Linked DNA regions of Homo sapiens: region 2 is linked to region 1. The links are contacts of gene promoters, found by promoter capture Hi-C in blood cells and fetal thymus (Javierre and others, 2016). All regions are on one chromosome and are shown on one strand. Each heading gives the region's core, a stretch centred on a gene start or on the middle of the fragment in contact. The rest is flanking DNA. Distances are from core to core; before and after follow the strand shown. Region 1 holds the start of BCAP29 (B cell receptor associated protein 29). Region 2 overlaps DLD (dihydrolipoamide dehydrogenase).

Region 1 (5,728 bases), core at 2,267-4,766:
TTTTAAAATTTATTAATTCTGACATGACAGAATATCTCATGAATTAAAAAACAACTCTTTCAAATTTAATAATAACCTGATATTTGATTATCCTCTGTCTGGTGGCTTAAATATTCTAAAAGTAAACCATACATGAGCAAAACCTTAAAAAGGAATTCTTGCAGTAGTAAAATATTATATTGTTGATAGAAGCTACTACTCTGTATCTTTTTCATGGTCAGAGAAATGACTTAGAAATAAAGATATATTGTTCTAACAATTGGCAACATTTCAGGAGTGGGGTCTAACTCTGCATACTGATTTTTATATAGTACAATTTTAACGTATACTCCAACTAAAAGTTTCTCTACTTTAACCATGAGGGAATTATAAAAACTACCCAGGTATTATACACATAAATTGAAAAAATCTTAAATATGTAGCTTGATAATTTTCACACACACACTATATATATATATATAAAACCATGTAATTACTACAGATAAAGATGTGAACATAGAGGAAATGAGATGGGGAAATAGTCTAGGTGGATTGAACAGTATAAACAAAGACAGTGGTAAGAAAGCATGGGTTATAAATGGCAAAGTGGCAAAATAATCCATCACGCAATAGGAAAGGTAACAAACTTTGTACAAGGGCAATTTAAATGAGTAACACTTTAGTTGAAAGGAGGCAGAAAAATGTAGTAAGCACTTAAATAGCTTCAAGCACTTACAACTTGAAAAAAACAGTTTCACTTTAAGATTAGGACACATTTAAGATTTAAGATTAGGACAACTTCAAGTAACTACTTGAAATTGGTGGGTTGAGGGAGATTCATACAGATGAATCGGTTCATTTTGTCTCTGCTTCCAAGTCCAAGCATTTTATACAGCCAATATTTAAATTATGCAATATAAAATTTTATATTTTTAAGAGAACATAAGTGGTAATACCTTGATCTAGGTCCAAATGTAAATTTACTTATTTCTTCAAGGTTTGGTGTGGTGTAAAAGGGAATGTAAGAGATCTCTCATAGGGAACAACTAGCAGTTGAGCACCTTATCATAGCTAATACCTATTGTGTTCTCACTATATTATGGTTCTAAGTACTTTTACATGTTTTATCTCATTTAATTACAACAACTACCGTAAGGGGTAGACACTAGTACTACCTCCATTTTACAGATGGGGAAACAGATCAGAGAGGATCAAGAGCATGCCCAAGGTTAGTAACATGCAGTTATAGGTGACCTGATTTCTGAGCATGTGCCTTTAACCACTGGGTTATGTAAGAAAATAATAGAGACTAAATGATGAAATATTTTCTTTAAAGATTATGGTGATACAAATATAAAAGATAAAAAGATGTGGATACACACATAGGACATATTGTAAATGATCTGCGTGCATACATACCGTATTTTCTTTATATCTGTACATGAGAACACATTTATATATCATATGCAAATATACACACATCTATCTAATAGCTACTTGATCAGGATGGGTAAAATTTTTATTTGGCAGGAAGAAAAATATTGATCCATAAGTTACAGATCACTCTGATGGAGTAAAGATCAACTGACAATTTTTCCTTCTTTGCAAACCCTTAAGCCTTATCTATAAATTAGATGTTTATATACAAAATCTTTCTTTCTCTTGAGTATATAGGATTCTATCATTGCAAATATTACCAAAAAGCAAAACAGGGTGTTACTGAGTTTGAAACAAAACCTACAGGATGAGAGGCAGCATGATGGAGTAGAAAGAACACTGGACTAAGAGCCAGATTTTTTTCTAGAATCTGTCACTTACCAGCTAGGTAACCGTAGGCTACTTGCCCTCCTGGGTCTCAGTACGTGATATATAGAACATGGGTGGAATGGATCAAATAAGATCAAAGACCCTACAGTATGATTCAATTTTTTTTCTTTAGTAAGAAACAACTTACTGAGCTTAGCTTAGCTGATAGAGAAGGACAGAAGAGAGCAGAAATCCAGGCAGGTAAGGAGCAAGTTAGGAGTTGTGAAAGACTATCTGGACCCTGAGCTAAGGTGAAACTTTAAGAAGTTTCTCCCAGTCCTGGGATTTTAATACACTTTAGTGGGTTATCTCTAGGATCTCACTTATGAAATACTTTCTTTTATGCCAGGAGTATGAACAAATATCTTGCAATATTTTTATTACATGTGTATTTCCCCATTCATACTATCAAATTTCTGGATCTAAAATTAAACGACTAAAAAGTAGATTACTGCAAGGGTAAAATGAACCACTGCTTGGCTTGAAACACTGTACTTGGTTCTTCAAGACCTTAGAAGTTCCGTCACTAACGAACTAATGCTAATACATGGTTGTGATACTTTTCACATTCAGCACTTTTAATATACATTCATTAATTTTATGTGAAATCAAAAGTAGTAAAATTGTCATTAATGAAACTAACGGTTACAAAGGCGAAAACTAAGAATAATTTATTGGCTTTGGTTTCTAAATTGCTGTTCCAGTGCCTCAGTGAAACACTTTTACACCCATGCTGTACTGTAAACATGATTTATCCACTTATATTTATTTAGTTCATGGCTCCAATTCAGGGCAATAAAACAAAGGTAAAACCTGAGACAAGGCAGGGCAGGTGTTAAAAGTATAATCGTTGCTTTATTATATCTGTAATCAACAGAATCAAAAGTATAGGCGCCTTTTCTTTTAGAAGGGAAGAAAAAGTTATTTCACTTGTACACGTAACAGAGTTTTATATAAAATGTTATTTTAATATTGTCATTATATACTACCTAATTCGTTAGGTGAGTTTATTTTCAAAGACTTTCGAAACTTTTTAATGTTCAGAAAACTTTTTCCATTTTACATTAAGAGCGATCCAATATTTATTAGTTAACGATTTGAAGGTTTCCTACCTCTGAGGAGGAATAAAAGGTAGGCAGAAGATTAAAATGAGTCCTATTTCGGCATAAAGAAAGGTTGCCACTGCAGCCCATTGGAGTGTCATTTTTTTCTTCACACCTAAATGGAAAAACACTTATTTTCTCTTGCTTCCTTTCAAACAAAACCGGGTTCAAGGCCCCGAGGCGCAGCGTTTTTGTCCAGGGGATGGACAGTGTTCCACCTTCCCCCACCTGGGAAGGCAAGCACGGACCCCGGTCAGGAAGGGGAAAAGGGTGGCCCGGGAAGCGGGTGTCGCCACCTCCCTGGGAGTCGTGGGAACTGGCGAGGCGGCTCGCTGGCCACTGCCTTTTCCGCCAGCTTCGCGGCGACAGAAGCCCAACGCCTCCCTCCACCAACGCCCGGCTTCCCGGCCCTCCCGCTCCCAGAAGGCGCCGCGGGCCCTCGACCACCGCGCCGCGGACCGGGCCGGGCCGGGTCGGGCCAGGCCAGCTCCGCGGGGTTCTCCAGACCAGGCAGCGGCGCTCTCCCTCCGCGGCCTACGCCCCACGGGTCCCCGGGTCGCAGAAGCCCTTACCCGCCGGCAGCCCGCCTGGCTCCCTGCGCTGCTCCGCGGCCGCCGACGCGCGGGACGTCAGACGCCGCGGCTGGGCGGGGGAGGGGAGCCAGGGCCCCACCCCGCCTCACGCCCCGCAGGCTCCCGCCCGCGGGTCCGTCCCGGCTGAGGTCACAGGCGGCGCGACCACGTTTATTGGCAACAGTTGTTTTCTAATTGGCGGCAGGTCAGAGAATGAGTTAGACTTTTGACCTGATGCTTGGAGGTCGGAGCGCAACTTCTTCAGGAGGACAGACTTTCCACTGCTAAGTGCGGCCCCGGCGGGAGGGTGCCGGGGTCCAGGTCTAAGGAGCGGCGCCGGGCGGCGGGGCTGGATTGGGTGGTGCAAATTCAGCGAACGCGCTTAAGACGCACTCCTTTCCGGTCACCTACTCTCTCTTCATGGTGGGAACTGTTTGTGTCCAGAATTAAGCTATATTTAATAAAGGGCCAGGATGAGGTGGTCGTGCAGCATTTTGTTCTGGAGAACCTAGGATCAACTGTATGTCACAACATATTCCGTAGGCGTTCCCGTTCCCGTCCATGGGCTGGGAAGAGACAGTAAACTTTACCGTGATGTTTGGGGACTGGTACGAAAGGTGGGTATGGGGATATTCTTTCACTATTTTCCAGCTTTTCAAACTGTGCGTGTACATTTAAGTTGTTGAGTTTTTTCAATATTGACAACGTATCAGGAATTTAATAAAAGTACTATCCTGGTAACAATTATTTGGGGAATAGTAAATAAATGTTGAAAATTGATAATTATAGAATATAAAACATTCAAAAACACATTTAAGTTGGTGCTTTTTCTTAATTTATCACTAATATTCTGGATCACATGTAACAGAAAAAATAGAAAAATAGACTTTGAACATAAATTAACCATAAGGAAGATTTTTTTTTTTTTTTTGAGATGGAGTCTCCCAATGTCGCCCAGGCTGGATTGTGGTGGTGCGATCTCGGCTCACTGTAGCCTCTGCCTCCCAGGTTCAAGTGATTCTCTGGCCCCAGTCTCCAGAGTGGCTGGGATTACAGGCGCCTGCCACCATGCCTAGCTAATTGTTGTATTTTTAGCAGAGACAGGGTTTCACCATGTTGGCCAGGCTGGTCTCGAACTCCTGGACTCAAGTGATCTGCCTGCCTTGGCCTCCCAAACTGTTGGGATTACAGGTGTGAGCCACCGCGCCTAGCCAGGAAGTTACTTTTTTTTTTTTTTTTTTGAGACAGAGTCTTGCTCTGTTGCCCAGGCAGGAGTGCAGTGGCGCAATCTCAGCTCACTGCAAGCTCCACCTCCCAGGTTCACACCATTCTCCTGCCTCAGCCTCCTGAGTAGCTGGGACTATAGGCGCCCGCCACCACGCCCAGCTAATTTTTGTATTTTTAGTAGAGACGGGGTTTCACCGTGTTATCCAGGATGGTCTTGATCTCCTGACCTCGTGATCTGCCCGTCTTGGCCTCCCAAAGTGCTGGGATCACAGGCGTGAGCCACCGCGCCCGGCCAGGAAGTTACTTTTAATCAAAAGTGTTAGAACTTCTTGCCCATCCACGCTGGTTCCTTCCAAACACCGAGCACATTACTCTAGTGATGATGCTGTGCTCACAACACTAGGGTAATTCAATTCAGAGTTCTGACCATACCTCCCTATTTTGTACAGTATTCATAGAAAATGAAACAGCGAGTTATCTTTAAAAAAAAAAATGCATTAACTGAAAAGTGAAAACAGAATGTACTGAGAAAAAAGATGGCACCACAGTGCTTATGTTAAAATGGATTCATTCAATATTCCCAAACGTGAATTAAACAGTTTTACATAATTGTTTCCTTATAACAGTTTTCATGTTGGCAAAACAAAATAATACTTTAATTATGAACGGTTTTATTTCAGTCTGAGATACTTAATTCTTGCAGTGCATGCCCACCGATAACAAAATCTATTAATAACACTCCAAAACCATGGGACTTTAAAGTTACAATCAACGGCTGAGAGGCACAAAAGTAATTAGGTTTTAAAGTTAAAAACAAAACCTGGTTACTATTCTCTAGGAAATATTTCAAATATATAATCATCTCCAGGTTGGACACCAAATTTCCTATACTTAAGATATGGTAGATTGCAATTAATTTTATCTTTTTAGGTAGGAGATTATTAAGCTTTCAATCTTTGGAGGACCTAGAAGTTTTGAAATGTACCAAATTTAATGTCATTAACCAAATGGAATTTTTAATATAAGTTCTGAGTGCAATTC
Region 2 (5,728 bases), core at 1,461-3,960, 320 kb before region 1:
TTCAAAGGAAAAATTACTCTGTAAATAATTTATCTAAAACAAAATGCTTCCTTACTTAGTAATGCTACACCATGGTGCAGCAAAAAAATCTGTGATATATGTCAGGGAAATCTATTTCAGGTTAGCAAGCTATTTTAAATTAAATAAATATTCCCCTGTAACCAAGTTCAAATATCATCACTCTATAATGCAAAGTTTAATTTGTATTCAAAGTAAAGCAGAAATCTGAATATTAAACACTGACCTTATTCTGTTTGAATAAGTGGGCAATTCCACCTGTTAAAGCTTTTACTGCAGTACTCTTCTGCTCCATCATCTTGTCTAAATTCAAGCGAACTTCGGACACTGTAATTTGTTCAATTAATCTTTAGTTCTTAGCTAAATTCTTGAAGCAATATGCAGTGTTTTTCACTCACCAACTGGAAAATTTCAACCTAATGCTTATAAAAGGCAGTATTAAAGTTTCAAAATGTAATAACTTATAATTATAGTTGACAAAAGGCCAACATCATTGTATCACAGAAACAGAACCTATCAAACACTATAAAATGTCTACCTTGGGTAAAAAGGCAGTCCAAAATAAAACATTATATCCCACTGTGATAACATATCCTCTGAACACTTTACGATGGTTATAAGTCTGGAAGATATGTAAGTAGAAATGACAAAGTAAAACATCATCTGAAATTTTAAATAAAGGAAAATGCTAGATTTCATGAAACAAAACAAATAAAAAATACACGTTTAAAAATTTCAAATACAGAAGCTTAACATTAAAAAGTTTAATCACCTAGGTTTTAATCACTCATTCAACTCAGAAGAGAACTCTGAAGCAACAGTATTAGATAAAAATGCTCAACTCAATTAAACTTTAGAGGTAAGAAGGGTATCTTAGAAAGTACCTCATATAACCAACACATATATTAGAGATAAGGAAAAAGAGACTCTGAGAGATTTCTGATTTACCCAAGGTCACAGAGCTAGGATGTAAAAGCCTTGCCTACAATGCAGGTCTCCTGACTACCCCTAGCTCTTCTTTCTTTACGTCATTCCATTTTTCAACTAGTATGATATTCTATTTGCTTTAGTGCATATACATCATCTCTATACCCAATGGATTGCCTTAAGTAGCCCCTCAAACCTACCTCTGTAAAGAAACAAATGAAGGAAAAGTAACAACCCAAGGTTATGACTAGGTCCTGCCCAGAAGAGACTACCTTTCTGGAAGTATCTAACAACAACAATAATTGGAGACAAAAGATTAAAACAGCTCAAAAAGTATGTCAGGAGACAAGATACGTTATGAAATGTCCTCTTCCTTTTCCGCTATGCCTCACTCTTTCTCTCCTCTAATTTTTCTACTATCAACAGCTTAAGTGGGCCTTCCTTCCTTCCTCTATCTCCCCATAGTACTCAGGAATCCAGCCTTCTCAGTGATTTCCAGATTTTAGGAAATGAAAACTGACTCTTCAAAAACACATAAAGGCAAACCTCAGGAAAAAGTTGGCAAAGGAACAGAAGATATAATGGTAGAAATCTGGATTTGCAGGGTTAGGCTTGGTTATACTTGGCTGGGAGAAATCTGGATTTAGGCCTTCTTTTTTAAGTAAATCTCTCCACATTTTTTAGATTATTTATTTTACTCTTCCTTCACTAAACATCTATTATGCGTACGTTAGACACATTTAAGTCTTTAGACAGAAGAGCCAAGTCAAGCAGTCTGGTAATATCATTAAGCATGAAAAGTATACTTACTTTCAATTCCTCTAGATGCAAAATCTTTTCCATGGGCCATATGGTAATAATGAGAGTTGTTCAATAAAGCCTAAAGGAAATTAAAAAGATCAAATTATCAAATATTCATAAACAGACTTCAAATAATCAAAAAGCACTTATGAAATGATAGTCTTTCTTTTCATTTTTTGAGACGGAGTTTCGTTCTTATTGCCCAAGCTGGAGTGCAATGGCGCCATCTCAGCTCACCGCAACCTCCGCCTCCCGGGCTCAAGCAATTGTCCCTGGGATTACAGGCATGCATCACCACGCCTGGCTAATTTTGTATTTTTAGTAGAGATGGGGTTTCTCCATGTTGGTCAGGCTGGTCCCAAACTCCCAGCCTCAGGTGATCCACCCGCCTCGGCCTCCCAAAGTGCTGGGATTACAGACGTGAGCCACCGCGCCCGGCCGATATTCTCTTTCAAATGTTCTCATCACAAAAATGATAAGTACTGTGGTAATGAATATGTTAATTAACTTGACTAAATTATTCCACATTATAGTCATAAATCATAACACCACTTTGTATGCCATAAATATATACAATTGTAATTTGTCAATTTACAATAAAAATTTAAAAAGAAGTTAAAAAAAAGACATGGCATTCTCTACATGGAATAGTATATGGCACTACACCAATTCAGTTTCTCTTATTAATCAAAGACAAACAATAATGATGTGAAAAACATTCAACAAACAAGAATGAAAAAGACATTTTTACTTTCTTTAAAAGTAAAGGCATAAGTACACACTTCAGGGTGGCAGGTGAAAAAGGCAGTCATGTTTACATACAAAAAGGACCTAAAAGAACAATTTACTATCTATTATCTGTTACACTGGTGAAGGAAAGATAAAGAGAAAAAACTAGAACATCAGAGTCTGTTTGAATGGAAAGCTAGGCATTCTGAGACAAGGAAGTTATTTCAGGAATGTGTGGCAGACTAGTGACAGCACTCTTTAAGTTTTACAAAAGAGAAGTGTGTTTTTTATCATTCTTTTTTTTCTCTGTGTGAAATGTGCCACAACTTGGATTGTTTTTTAACAAGTGTATTTGTCTAATCTAGTCTCAATCCATCCTTCTAGTTGGTTGCTAGCCAAAAACAATCTCTGTGCTGTACAAAACACATGCTCACCTTAGAAGGAATACAACCAACATTCAAGCATGTTCCACCAAGTGTTTCATTTTTCTCAATGCAGACTGTCTACAACCAAAGAAAACATTATTTAACTGCACATAACCTCAATGTTTCAGATCACTAAAATTCCAAATATATGTCTTAATTCTTCTACAAAACAAGCTATTCGGGCTATGTTTTCACAGACTAAAATATATAGTCCTTTATAATTTATCATTTGAATAATAATAAACACTTTTGGGCTGACCCAAAAGTGAATTATTCTAAAAGATATTTTTGTGTGCTTAACATTACCAAATATATGCTTTTAGTTCTATCACTGTATCTTCCAAAGTGTGATTAGATGCCAAAATGAAAAGTACTGGGAAGAGAAGAAAACTAATAGATTTCACTTTCCATTCCAAGAGAATACTACAACCAAATGAACCTAATCTTTATTAGTCTCAGGCTTACAAGTAATTTATAGAGTTAAGGAAGTATTTACCATGTTTTTGCCTGCAAAGTACTTTATAAATATGATCAACCCTTCCCAAATTAAAATAAATCAATACTTAGTTTGAGTTCAAACCTTACCTTGAAGCCTAACTGGGCAGCTTTAATAGCAGCAACATATCCTCCAGGACCAGAACCTATAACTGTTACATCAGCATCAACTACGATAAAAGCAAATTGATATAAAATAGTAAATTGCTTAATATTTACCAAAAAGAGCTCTTTGGAAGAGCAAACAAATAACCCGATACTTAAACCTCTTACAGTACAAATCAGCATTTTCTACATAGTTTCTGCACTATTTTATTACTACTACTTGATGCTCTTTGATGCTACTGAAAAATGGCATAAATACTCAAATTTCATTTTCTATTATTTTCTATTCATTACAACATACAGAAACACAACTGAGTTCTGTAACACTCACATTGTATTCACTGACCTTCCTAAATTCTATTGATTTAATAACTGACGGAATTTAGTGATACTGGAAGACAAGTATGTATGAAGCAAAGAGCCTGAGCTTTGGAATCTGACATTCTGGGCTTCATATCTCAGCACGGCCAATGAGTAGTTGTATGAACTTGACCCAATGACTTAACCTTTCTGTAATATGGGGATGAAAACACTGCCTTCAATGATTGATGTTAGAATTAAATAAGATAATTTTATATAATGCTTTAGTATTTCCAATAAATTTAAGACCTATTACCTTTTTCAGGTCCTTAACTTCTGAAATATGAGGGAAAAAACAGCTTCTATGTAATATTTAACAAATATGTTTTGTACTTGCATATTGATAATTTTTACATACCTTAAGATAATAGGCTAACCAGAATATTCAATTAACTATTGTGGCCATTTTTCAAATAAAGATAAAAAATTGAAAATTAATTTTGATCAGTATCCTTAGGAGTTTAACAATTGTAATACAAATGTGCAAGTAAGTCCAATTACTCCCATTCTTCTCAATCCAACTTCAAATAAAGTAACAGTGACTGTTAAGAGTTAGGAAACAGTCTCCCTTTTCTTCCCCTTCCACTGTCCTGACAACCCCAACTAGTCTAGCATTTAGCAATTCATAACACATATTCACATATATTATCATGTTTGAGTCTCAGAATTTCCTATGAGGAAGATAAAGATGTCATAAATAAGACATTTCACAGAATAAACAAGAAGTTCAGAGAGGTCAATTAACTTGTCTAAGGTTAACCAGCAAGTGAGTTGCAGAGACAAACTAAGCTTTTTGACTCTACTTCCGGTGGTCTTTCCATTATTCAATACTATTCCATTCCTCAGTTTTAACCATCATAAACTAAAATTCCAGAGAGCAATAATCAAGCTTTATAATCACTACCTATGTGACCTTAGGTGAGTAATTTAACCTGCTTCATCTTTGTTTCCATACCTGGCAAAAGAAAGACCACAAAAAAAACCTACTTCATAGGGTGATAACAGAATAAAATAATGTATGTAAATAATTTAGCATAGTACCTATAGCATACATAATAAGTATTCTATACATAGTAGCTATATTCTGACCTACAAAGAAGACTATTTTAATTTGCATCACCCCCTCTCCCCAAAAACACACATCCCTAGAGTAGGATCATTCAAAAAACCTTTGCTGGCCTGAACAGAATCACAGAACCTCTGTGTTGGTGGATAACTAAGTTACTCAGCCCAATTATCCACAAAATCTAAGAATCCCTCCTGTTGAATAAATGAAAATACTAGATTCTCTTTGGTTATAGCAGATGATAATTGAGATAATACATGAAAAAATATGTATAGTCATTTCAATACATGAAAAATTGCTTCAATTTTTACTGATCCATCTGTGCTTTTTAGCCACCCTGCTTGGTTCACTGATTTCGGTTCAGAATTAAGTATCTAATAAAATGTATTTTTATTTTCAAATCTTGAACCAAATGACGATCTACACAACATCCCTTAAATGGGTTCTAATTTTTAATTTCAGAGTAATGTAAATACAAGCTACAAAACAGGTTTCTTTGCTGAATTTTTAATGTCTTTTCTGATTAAAAATTTAGGTTTACTGAATAAATTTAAATACACTAAAGCAAAATTAAAAAAAAAACAACCCATCCACATTGCCATACAGCCCAGAGAGAACTGTTTATAGGTCCTCCCAATCCTTCTTCTAGGAAAGTTTTTATAAAATTCAATTTTTGCCATATTTTATATTCTTTTCTCACTCTTACATGAGCATATATATTTATAACATATATTACTGCTATAATTCTCCAAAAACCCTTTTAATGACAATAAAACTGAATTAAATATTTTAGATTTTAAGT

The links. The method cuts DNA at HindIII sites, captures the fragments that hold promoters and counts their contacts. A CHiCAGO score of 5 or more calls a contact.
Region 2: a contact is called between a fragment that was not itself captured here and the fragment with the promoter of BCAP29 in region 1, in 1 of 17 cell types (erythroblasts). The highest score is 7.7, in erythroblasts.

Annotation. Positions count from the first base shown.
Region 1 is chr7:107,578,034-107,583,761 of GRCh38, reverse strand. It overlaps BCAP29 (B cell receptor associated protein 29), which reads right to left and starts at 3,516. Exons shown (of 8, transcript NM_018844.4): 1 at 3,461-3,516; 2 at 2,898-3,003. The coding sequence starts at 2,989. DUS4L-BCAP29 (DUS4L-BCAP29 readthrough) reads right to left here. Exons shown (of 13, transcript NR_163941.2): 7 at 2,898-3,003. DUS4L (dihydrouridine synthase 4 like) reads right to left here. Exons shown (of 8, transcript NM_181581.3): 8 at 5,239-5,728. RefSeq lists an enhancer at 3,009-3,078 and a silencer at 3,169-3,658. The HindIII fragment of the contact is 6,036 bases long and covers 1-5,635 here.
Region 2 is chr7:107,899,575-107,905,302 of GRCh38, reverse strand. DLD (dihydrolipoamide dehydrogenase) reads right to left here. Exons shown (of 14, transcript NM_000108.5): 3 at 3,486-3,565; 4 at 2,910-2,978; 5 at 1,756-1,825; 6 at 245-345. Among named protein-coding and RNA genes, the nearest start is that of DLD, 11 kb to the right of the region's middle. The HindIII fragment of the contact is 3,883 bases long and covers 769-4,651 here.